Linked DNA regions of Homo sapiens: all the other regions are linked to region 2. Evidence: promoter capture Hi-C in 16 types of primary human blood cells and fetal thymus (Javierre and others, 2016). All regions are on one chromosome and are shown on one strand. Each heading gives the region's core, a stretch centred on a gene start or on the middle of the fragment in contact. The rest is flanking DNA. Distances are from core to core; before and after follow the strand shown. Region 1 has its middle 76 kb from the start of MIR124-1HG. Region 2 holds the start of CLDN23 (claudin 23). Region 3 overlaps TNKS (tankyrase).

The links. Contacts are between HindIII fragments. The CHiCAGO score rates a contact against its expected background, and 5 or more counts as called.
Region 1: a fragment that was not itself captured here is called in contact with the fragment with the promoter of CLDN23 in region 2 in 3 of 17 cell types (neutrophils, total CD8 T cells and fetal thymus); the score reaches 6.7 in neutrophils.
Region 3: a contact is called between a fragment that was not itself captured here and the fragment with the promoter of CLDN23 in region 2, in 1 of 17 cell types (total B cells). The highest score is 6.2, in total B cells.

The regions. Positions count from the first base shown.
Region 1 is chr8:9,825,782-9,829,192 of GRCh38, reverse strand. No RefSeq gene overlaps it. Among named protein-coding and RNA genes, the nearest start is that of MIR124-1HG, 76 kb to the left of the region's middle. The HindIII fragment of the contact is 318 bases long and covers 1,214-1,531 here.
Region 2 is chr8:8,700,644-8,704,059 of GRCh38, reverse strand. CLDN23 (claudin 23) reads right to left here and starts at 2,123. Exons shown (of 1, transcript NM_194284.3): 1 at 1-2,123. The coding sequence starts at 1,661. The coding sequence ends at 783. RefSeq lists an enhancer at 1,330-2,297 and a silencer at 1,771-2,390. The HindIII fragment of the contact is 12,864 bases long and covers 1-3,416 here.
Region 3 is chr8:9,769,574-9,772,945 of GRCh38, reverse strand. TNKS (tankyrase) reads right to left here. Exons shown (of 27, transcript NM_003747.3): 26 at 2,684-2,840. Among named protein-coding and RNA genes, the nearest start is that of MIR597, 30 kb to the right of the region's middle. The HindIII fragment of the contact is 3,049 bases long and covers 1-2,878 here.

The DNA.
Region 1 (3,411 bases), core at 123-2,622, 1.1 Mb before region 2:
GGCCAGAGGTGACTTAAAAAGCCCTTTTGAGTTTACAATGTTTTCAAATAAAACAAAGCAGGAAAGGTTATCAGATATTCTTGATCAAGATTCAGGCAAAACCTAAATAGGCAGCAGCAATTGGCTAGATCCGTAGACGAAGGTGTATCCGGATCCCATTAAATGAATGGCCCCAATTGGGCTGAATGGCCCGACCCACCACCCTGTGCACACCTGGCCTCTTTTGTATCTGCTCTGGGACATGCTTTATGTCACCCTCACAACAGCCCAGGGAAGAGGCTGTGAGCCCCATTGTTAAGGATGAGGAAAACAAATTAATGATCTTGTCTGAGGGTACATAGCTAGGAAGAGGCGGCTCTGGGATTTGAACTCCTCTTCTCTGAGAGGATGCGTCATCTGCCTTGCCCGTGCAGCCTCCCCTGCAGGCTTCAGCAGAGCGGGTGGGGCCGATGACTGCTGTACTGGAAGGGTGGCTCTTGCTGAGACCCTGTGAGGTGGCTTCACAATTGCATGGTTGTGGGTGGGGTTATTATTACTTACTGTGACTCTCAAGCAGTGTAACATAGTGGTTAAAAGCTCTGACTCTGGGCCAGGTGTGGTGACTCACTTCTGTAATCACAACACTTTGGGAGGCGGAGGCAGGAGGATCACTTGAGGCTAGGAGGTAAAAATCCACCAGGACAAGGTAGTGAGACCTCATCTGTACGAAAACTAGAAAACCTGGCCAGGCACGGTGGCTCACGCCTGTAATCCCTGCGCTTTGGGAGGCCCAGGTGGGTGGATCACCTGAGGTCATGACTTCAAGGCCAACCTGGCCAATATGGCAAAACCCCATCTCTATTAAAAAAAAAACAAAACAAAAATTAGCCAGGCATGGTGGCGGGTGCCTGTAATCCCAGCTACTCAGGAGGCTGAGGCAGGGAAAATTGCTTGAACCTGGGAGGTGGAGGTTGCAGTGAGCCGAGATGGTGCCACTGCACTCTAGCCGGGATGACAGAGCAAGACAGTCTCAAAAAAAAAAAAAACAAAAAAAACGTAGCCGGGCCATGGTGCTGCATGCCTGTAGTCCCAGCCATTCAGGAGGCTAAAGCAGGAGGGCCAGTTGAGCCTGGGAGGTGGAGGCTACAGTGAGCTGTGATTGCACCACTGCCGTCCAGCCTGGGCAAGACAGCGAGATCCTGCCACAAAAAGAGAGAAAAAAAAAAAAAAAGCTTGGACTCTGGCCCCAGGCTGCCTGATTTGAGTCTCAGCTCTGTCACTTACTAGCTGTATATAACCTGGGCAACTCGCTTACCCACTCTGTGCCTCAGTTTCCTCATCTGTACATCAGGAATAATAGCTCCCATCATAGGGTTGTTGTGAGAATTATGTGAATGATATACATGTAAAGCACTTTATATCATACTTGGCACATTATGAAAACTATTTTTGTTATTGTTTGCAAAAAAAAAAACCTGTATTGTTTGCTGTTATTGCGATTCGATGAATGACAGTCATCAAATTCTTAGCAAAAGTGAAGTCAGAGAAAGCTTTAAATCAGCCAAATATTTTTTTAATCTCTCTAGTTTTCTCTGCACAAACCAAGACTCCTCTACTCATCCTATGAACAGTCAGCCTAGGCTTTTTTTTTTTTCTTTCTTTCTTTTGTTGAGACAAGGTCTTGCTCTGTTGCCCAGGATAGAGTAGAGTGGAACAATCACGGGTCACTGCAGCCTCAACCCACCACCTCAACCCCAGGTCTCAAGCTGTCCTCCTACCTCAGCCACCCCAGTAGCTGGGACTATAGGCAAGCACCACCGCATGTAGTGCTTTTTTTTTTTCTTTTTCTTTTTCTTTTTTGTAGAGATGGGTTCTCACTAGGTTGCCCAGGCTGGTCTTGAACTCCTGGGCTCAGGTGATCTACCTGCCTCAGCCTCCCCAAGTGCTGGGATTACAGGCGTGAGCCACAGCTCCCGGGCCAGCATATGCTTTGATAAGGCTTTAGTGAAGATCATTCAACTAAACCACTGAGACAGCACATACCTTGAGCGCCTACTGTATGCCAGACCCTGGCTAGCTATGAGATTCATAGATGAAGCCCTGCTCCCTCCACCCTGCGGGCTCTCCCCATTCTGCAAGAGAGGCAGGCCAGTCACAAACAAGGAGAACAGTGAGTTAAGGGGACCCAGGCACTGTGAGGGCAAGAGGAGGTGCACCCCATTCTGCCCCAAACAACAGGGAGTGTCCCTAGAGCAGGTAACTGATCCAATACCCGTGAGGCAGGACCTGCAGCAGGAAGCGAACTCCAGAGACTTGCAGGACTTTTGGTCTTGGGCTGCAGCATGCAGGGGCTGGCAAACATGTTCTGAAAAGGACGAGCTCATCAGTATTTTAGGCTTTGCAGACCCCGCAGTCCCAAATGAATCAGCGTCGGCTAGGGGCGAATGACACTTTATTTACAAAAGCATGCGGAGGGCGGAACTCCGTCCGTGGGTCGGAGCTGATCCCTATTGCAGGGTTGGCCGACCCCTCCACAGATCAGTGGCATCCAGTCCTGGGGACGGCAGGAAGGCCGTGACGCCTGGAGGCAGGAGGCCTCGCTCATCACCCAGTGAAGGAACCGTGGCCTGAACCAGTGGTTCTCCGCTCAGGCTGTACCTGACAGTCACCCAGAGGGATCTGAAACTGCCTCATACCCCGGCCACCCCATCCAATTACATGTGAATTTCTGGACATGGGACTCTGGCATTGGTGCTTTTTACAGTACCCCAGGGGTTTCCAATTTCAGCCCACACTGAGAACCACTGGCAAAGTCTAAGGAAGTACAGGCAGGAATGTGGGAGGGAAACAAATTTAGACAGTACCATACTTGTGATGGCGCCGCTTAACAATTTATTATTATTATTGTTATTATTTTGAGACAGGGTCTTATTGTGTCACCTGAGCTGGAGTGCAGTGGCACAATCTTGTCTCACTGCAACCTCCGTTTCCCGGGTTCAAGTGATTCTCCTGCCTCCGTCTCGGGAGTAGCTAGGATTTCAGGCGCCCGCCACCACACCCAGCTAATTATTGTATTTTCAATAAAGAAGGGGTTTCACCATGTTGGCCAGGCTGGTCTTGAACTCCTGGCCTCAAGTGATCTGCCTGCCTCAGCCTCCCAAAGTGCTGGGACAGCAGGCATAAGCCACTATGCCTGGCCCACTTAACAATTTTTTGACTTTACGATGGGTTAGCAGGCAGTGTAACCCCATTGTAAGCTGGGAGCATCTATATTGGGAATTTTCGGAAGTACACAGCCCTATAAAACTGCTGGGATATGAGTAAGTAGATTTGAGGAAAGAATTAACCACATCATGCCCCCTTAATTGGGGGGGTTAAGTGTTCTCTCCCGCCTAGCTCTCAAAGGGCCTGGATCAGTGCCTACCACATGCT
Region 2 (3,416 bases), core at 874-3,373:
TACATATGTGCTTTAATATGATTAACAGGTTCCATTTTGTACAAAATGTTAAACCTAGAGTCCTCTGCGTCCTGGATGAGGCGTCCAAAGGGTGGAATAGTACAGCATTAGGACCTTTGTTCTCCTCTTGGCTTCTGGAAGAGAAACTCTTGCATGCCCTCGACTTTCACCGCAAAAATAAGTGAGAAAAAAGATAAATCCCATTTATGCAATGATATGTAGCTATGAGTTAATCACGGTATTTCATTCCATGAAATCCATTAAGCTGCTGGCATTTGCATGGCTCTAAGTTTATTTTAAGAGGCTCATTCAAACATGGCCAGGAATATATTGGCCTCTTGAGAGTTTGCATGGCAAGGAGTTATACAGCAGGAAAAAGAAAAAAAACCCAATAATTATATTGATGCAAGATTCATCAGTATTTTAGAATATTGTCGTTTCAACATGTTAAATTGTTTCTGAGCACTGCTGATTTCAGCACTGTCCCTGGTCCACGTGACGCAAATGCCACCCTTTCCATATATTCTTCAGCAAAAATATATGAAAAGCCCGTCACTCCCTAAGAGGACCCTGATCCCTCTGGAGAGGAAAACTAAACTCTTTAAGAAGAAAACCAAACCCAACCTGAACTAATCGTCCAAGGAGTCCTGTTTGGTCCCACGAAAGGCAGATTTCCATCCACACCAGTGAGGGGCAAGTGTCCGGGTTCCAACTCGAAGCCAGGCGGGCCTGTGCGGGGGTGAGTCCTTTGCCACCCGGCGCCCCCCAGGCTCTACAAGCGTCTAGAGGTCGGAGTCGCAGGGCAGCGAGCTGTCGCAGGGGTGGGTGCTGCACGAGGGAGCGTCCTGGGACTCCCACCCCTCCCCGTCGAGGACGTCCACCGAGTTGGTGTAGGCCTTGGGCCGCGGCCGCGGCATGGGGAAGCCGACCTTGGGCTTGGGCTTGGGCTTGCGGTGCTGGGCAGGCGGCGGTCGGTGCTGGCCGTCGCTGTAGTACTTGATGGCGGGCGCCAGGTCGGGCTCGGGCCACTCCACTTGGATGGTGCTGACGCTGCTGCGGCGAGGCCCGGCGGAGGGTCCCTTGCGGCGGCGGCGACAACGCTCGTCGCACCAGGGCGCGAAGCTGAGCGCCAGCGAGAAGCCGCCCAGCAGCAGGAGGCAGCTGCCCAGGTAGCCCAGGACCAGGCTGTAGCTGACCTGCACCGTGACCGGGCTGGCCGGGGCGGGCAGCACGTCGCGGTCCCCCAAGAAGTGGTTGTACCAGGACACCGGGATGAGGCCGAGGAGGCCAGCGACGAAGAGCACGACGCCCGAGAGCCCTGCCAGCACGAAGTTGGGCTCGTCCTGCCAGCAGCGCACGCCCAGCGACGCCAGCAGAAGCCCCAGGACCGTGGCGGCCAGCGAGGTGACCATGAGTGCCCGCGCCACCAGCACGGGCTGGGCCTCGAAGTAGCCCCACTGGTCCGTCTGGCCGCACTCGCGCTCGCGGCTGCTCTGCTCGCGACACATGTCCCACAGGCCCTGGTACAACTCCACGTCCACTGGCTGGTTCAGGAAGCCCTTCACCAGCCGCCAGCCGGGCGCCAGGGTGCCGGTCAGGTTGAGCAGGAGCCCGCAGGGCGCCAACACCATGCCCAGCGTCATCACCACCGGCGTCCGCATCCCGGCCCGCCGCGCCGACGGCGCCCCTGCAGCCTGCCTTCCTTCTCCGCTGTCGCCTTCTCCGCCGTCGTCTTCTCCCTGCCGTGCCCCAGGCTCCGGGGACCCGAAGTCAGCGCGGACGCCCCGGGCTCCGGGTCGGGCTCCTGAGCCCTGATCGCTCCAGGGACGCTCTTTGTCTCCTGCACGGGGACCGTCCCCACTTAGGCTAGTTCCCTCCTGGCGTCCCGGCCGCTCCGCCCTCCTACTGGCCCTAATCGAAACCAGCCCGCGGGCGGGTCTGACCGAAACCGCGGGTCCGGGCGCGGGCGCCCAGGGGCGGCTGCCGCGGCCAAACCTGGCCCGGGAGGGAGGGACCCGAGGTGAGCGCAGGAAGCGGCGGGGCCACCTCGCCCGCGGCAGGTGAGATGGGGATCCGAGCGGCGGGGACACCCCACCTTGCAGCCGGGCGGCTGGGCCACGCCTGGCCTGGACTGCTCACGGCCGGAGCAAAGGTCGCCCCGCCCCTGGGTCCTCGCGCCGCCCCGCCGGGCCAGGCGGGCGGTGGGCGGGGAGGGAAAGAGGCGGCGCTGGCGGGACGCGGTGGCTGCGCAGCTTCCCTGCTGCTCAGCGGATCTCGGTTCCTAGAATTTGTTTCCGGTCCCTGCCCGTCGACCCTGCGCTTATAGCTTAGCCCTTTACTCCCAGAGGGTTCCAGATCGCCCCCTGGTTTGCTCTGCAACTTGCAGCCACTCGCAGAGAAGTGGGCGGTGCCGAGCGCTCCCGGGGATTGGAGGTGCGCTGGGTGAGTGTGCAGAAGCCCACCCAGTCCAGGAGCGTGTCCCAGAACGTTGCACCGGATTATTTCCTTAATAAAGGCTCCACACTCTGGATTAAATTCGTCTCTAAAGAATCTGTGCCAGTGTACTTCTGGGCAGAAGGGTTACACAAGGATTTTACTTTCCTTTTTCAGCCTTGTGAGACTTTCAAGGGGACTAGAAAGAGGGACCAGTGTTCCCGGATGTCCTGCTTAGCGTTTTTTGCAGGTTTATTTAATTTTACAGTGTACTGTGGCCTTTCTCGTCTGTAGGTTATTTTACAACTCTATAAATTATAGAAAGCCTGTAGTATTGCAAATGACTTTTGCCAACATCAAGGCTAATGAGTTCGTCCCAGTGGAATGATTATTGTCCAATGGATACTGACCAGTATGGCATTGATTTGTAAATTCATTTTAGCATTCCTGTTTGTCTGTATATGTGTGTCCTTTTGTTCTTTGCTTTTTTTTTTTCCTTTTTCTTTTATTTATTTATTTATTTATTTATTTATTTATTTATTTTAAACAGGGTTGGGGAGTTTCGCTGTGTTGCCCAGGCTGGTTGCAAACTCCTGGGCTCAGGTGAGTCTCCCGCCTCAGCCTCTGGAGTAGCTAGGACTGCAGGCAAGTGGCCAGCTTCTTTGGTTTTAACATCATACTGGTTTCCTTATTCAATAATGAGTTAAATAACCTCTTTCACACATATTCATTTTATATTTGTGTGAAAGTCACGATGTTTACATTTTTTCTAAAAATTATCCTTTAATAACACTTTTTTGTATTTTCTAGATTTTTACAATGAAAACGTATTGCCTTTATAATTGTTTAAAATTAAAACTATTTTTAAAATTCAAGTTAATTTAGCATTGGTTTGAAATAATTTTGAATATTCCAGAGTGGACAACACTAGGAATGACAGTGACTGCTTTTTTTAAAAGAATATTTTTAAATTAAAAAAAAAA
Region 3 (3,372 bases), core at 105-2,604, 1.1 Mb before region 2:
AGGTTTTATTTATCTCATTTGCTTTATCATTTGCCCCTTCCCTATCCCTGTATACTAGATACACCCACACCCACACATACGCACTACACACACACACACACACACACACACACAGACACACACACACACACACACAAACACACACACACACATTCTCCCCAAAACGTTTACAAGTTATATACATCATCATGGTCCTTTATCCCTAAATATGCCAGTATATATTTTCTAAGCATAGACATATTGCCTTACGTAAGTACAGAATCAACCTTATAATTTTACATTGATACAATCCTTTTATTTAATGTCCATATTCCAATTCTGTCAGTTGATCTAATAATGTACTTTCTCTTCCAATACTGGATGCAGTTGGGGGCAGAAGGTTAACTTCGTTTTCATGTCTCTTGGGCCTCATGTAATCTGGAAAGTTAGCACAGCCTTTCTTTTATAATATTAACATTTTTGAAGAATACAATCTTTCAACATTAAAAAAAGTAAAACATTCCTCATTTTGATTAGACTTACATCATGTATTTTTGGCTGGAATGCTGCAGAGATGTCGTGCCTTTAGAGTATCCACCTAGAGAGATAATATAAGCCTATCTGTCCCTCATTGGTGATGTTGATTTTGATTATCTGGTCAAGGCATTGTCCCCTTTCTCCAATATATAATTACTCCTCCCCCCAGCCCCCTTTGAAAGTAAGTCTGTAATAAGAAAACCACGCAAATATTCTTCTCCTTAGTGAAACAATCCCCATATTTAGCATCCATTAATAATTCTTGCCTGGTCTAATAATGGGTACATGATGAGTCCCATGTCATCCCTCCCTCCACCCGTCCTTCCCTGTTTCTCCCTCCCTCCTTCTCTCTCCCTCTCTCCCCCTCCATCCCTCCCTACCTCTGTCTCCTCTCACTCCCTCCCTTTCTCCCTCCCCCATCCCTCTGCCTATCCCTTCTTCCCTCCCACCTCTTTCTCCCTCTCACTCCCTCCCACTCCCTCCCTCTCCCCCTCCCTCCCTCTTCCTCCCTCTCTCCCCATCCCTTCCTTCTGCTCTCCCTCACTTTCTCCCTCCGTTCCGCTCTCTAGCTCTCTCTCCCTCCCTCCCCTCTCTCCCCGCTTCATTCCCCCTTCTCCCTTCCTCCCCCACTTCCCTTCTCCTCTCTCTCCTGCCTTCCTTTTTTTCTCTCTCCTTCCTCCAATCCTTCCTTTCTCACTCCCTGTTCCTTCCTCTCTCGCTTTCTCCCTTCCTCTCTCTCTCTCTCTCTCTCCCTCCCTTCCTGCCTCTCCCCTCCATTCATCCCTCTCTCTCTTTCCCTCCCTCTTTCCTTCCTCTCTTCCTCCCTTCTTTCTTTCCTCTCCCTTTCTCTCTTCCTTCCTCTCTCGCTTTCTCCCTTGCTTCCTCTCTCAGTCTTTCTCCCTCCCTTCCTCTCTCTCCCGTTCTTTCCTTCCCTTTATCTCTTTCCCCCTTCCTTCTTCTCTCCCTCCCTTCTTCTCTCTCTTTTCCTTTCCTCTGTCCCTCCCTTCCTTAGTATCTGTCTCCCTTTCTTTCCCTCCCTTTCTCTCTTTCCCTCCCTCCCTTCCTCTCTCTCTCCCTCCCTGCTTCCCTTCCTCTCTCTCCCTCCTTTCTTCTCTCTTCCTTCCTTCCTCTCTCCTCCCTCCCTTCCTCGCTCTCTCTTCCTCCCTCACTTCCTTCCTCCCTCCCTCCTTTCCTCGCTCTCTCCCTCCCTTCCTCTCTCTCTTCCTCCCTCACTTCCTTCCTTCCTCTCTTCTCTCCCTCCTTTCCTTCCTGTCTGTCTCTCTCTCTCTCCTTCCCTCCCTTCCTTGGTTTCTCTTTCTCTCATATACACACACATGCTTATATTACTACTTACCCATAAATTTACATGGGTGTACACACACGTTAGAAACCATGAGATCATAGTAATACTTCCAATTTCAGTCCACCCTTAGAGTCTTTCTTACCTTCTCCATTCCATATTTGTATGTCCCTTCTTCTACCATGAGAATTTTGGCTCCTCAAATCAATACATCAACACATCCGCTCATGTGCTCAATCCTATAATATGCTTAAGAGTTTCACTGTTTTGCCCACGGTATCTCCATCAACACATTTACTAAAAGGAGTTCAGGATTCCTTTGTCAGTCTTCCCCCAACAGCATTCCCTACCCTGCCCATGACTGAAGGCACAGTATAAAATACTGTTTTCATAGGTTATATATATTTAGTTATTTCCTTCTTTATTTTTCTCTTTTATTGTAGTTATGGTATTCATTTGAAGTTCACTTACATTCAGACAAATTGTTTTTGTTTTTGGACAAATCCTGTGGCATGTACATCCATGAAGACCCACTAACAGCAGCTGCCCTGGCATGCTGCCCACGAAGTGGCACAAGGCATTAGTTCAGAGCTGCAGGCCTCAAAACGGCATGAGGGCCCAAGCCTTTGTTTCTCAGCTGCCCTCTTGTTCACACTGTGTTATGTGGCTGACAGCTACTAATGGGTTTTAGGTAAAAAGTTGATGTCAAAGAATTATTTTGATACCTTTATTTTGTATCTGAAGTAATTAATACTAGCACACTGTGTGGTGGATATTTCACTGAAAAGTGTCTCAAGTCTTACACGGTCTCTGTGCTCTATTGACATGTTTGTGAACTTGGTTATGCTTGTTTGATGAGTAACATACCTGTTCTCCTCTGTAGATGACATATTCAGCATATGCCAGCCCATTGACGCTCGGTCTACCAATGACTGAGTGGTGCCCTGGAGGCGCGTGGGCCATTTTCATGGTGCTAAACTGCAGAAAGGATTTCCCAAGGGTCACTCTACAGAAGAGCATTTGTCTAAGGAAAAAGAAAAAAACAATGCTTTGAAGGAAGCTTTAAATCTTACAATAATATAACTGCTAGATCTATTAATTTTTTAAAAATTTAACATAAGGCAAGCTAATTTAAATGTCATTTTCAGATTTATGAGTAGGAATGGGATGGAATTTGATATAATGATTTGCTATAAACAGTTACCAGACTCAATAGTTACACTTAAAGTTTAAAGTAGTTTTGGTATGGCTTAGGAATCGGCCATAGAAAATGCCTGCTAGGGAGATCAAGACCATCCTGGCTAACACGGTAAAAACCTCGTCTCTACTAAAAATACAAAAAGTTAGCCGGGTGTGGTGGCGGGCGCCTGTAGTCTCAGCTACTTGGGAGGCTGAGGCAGGAGAATGGCACGAACACGGGAGGTGGAGCTTGCAGTGAGCCGAGATCGCGCCACTGCACTCCAGGCTGGGCGACAGAGCGAGACTCCGTCTCAAAAAAAAAAAAAAAAAAAAAAAAAGAAAATGCCTGCCAGTAAGTTTTGCCTGGTGGAAAAAGG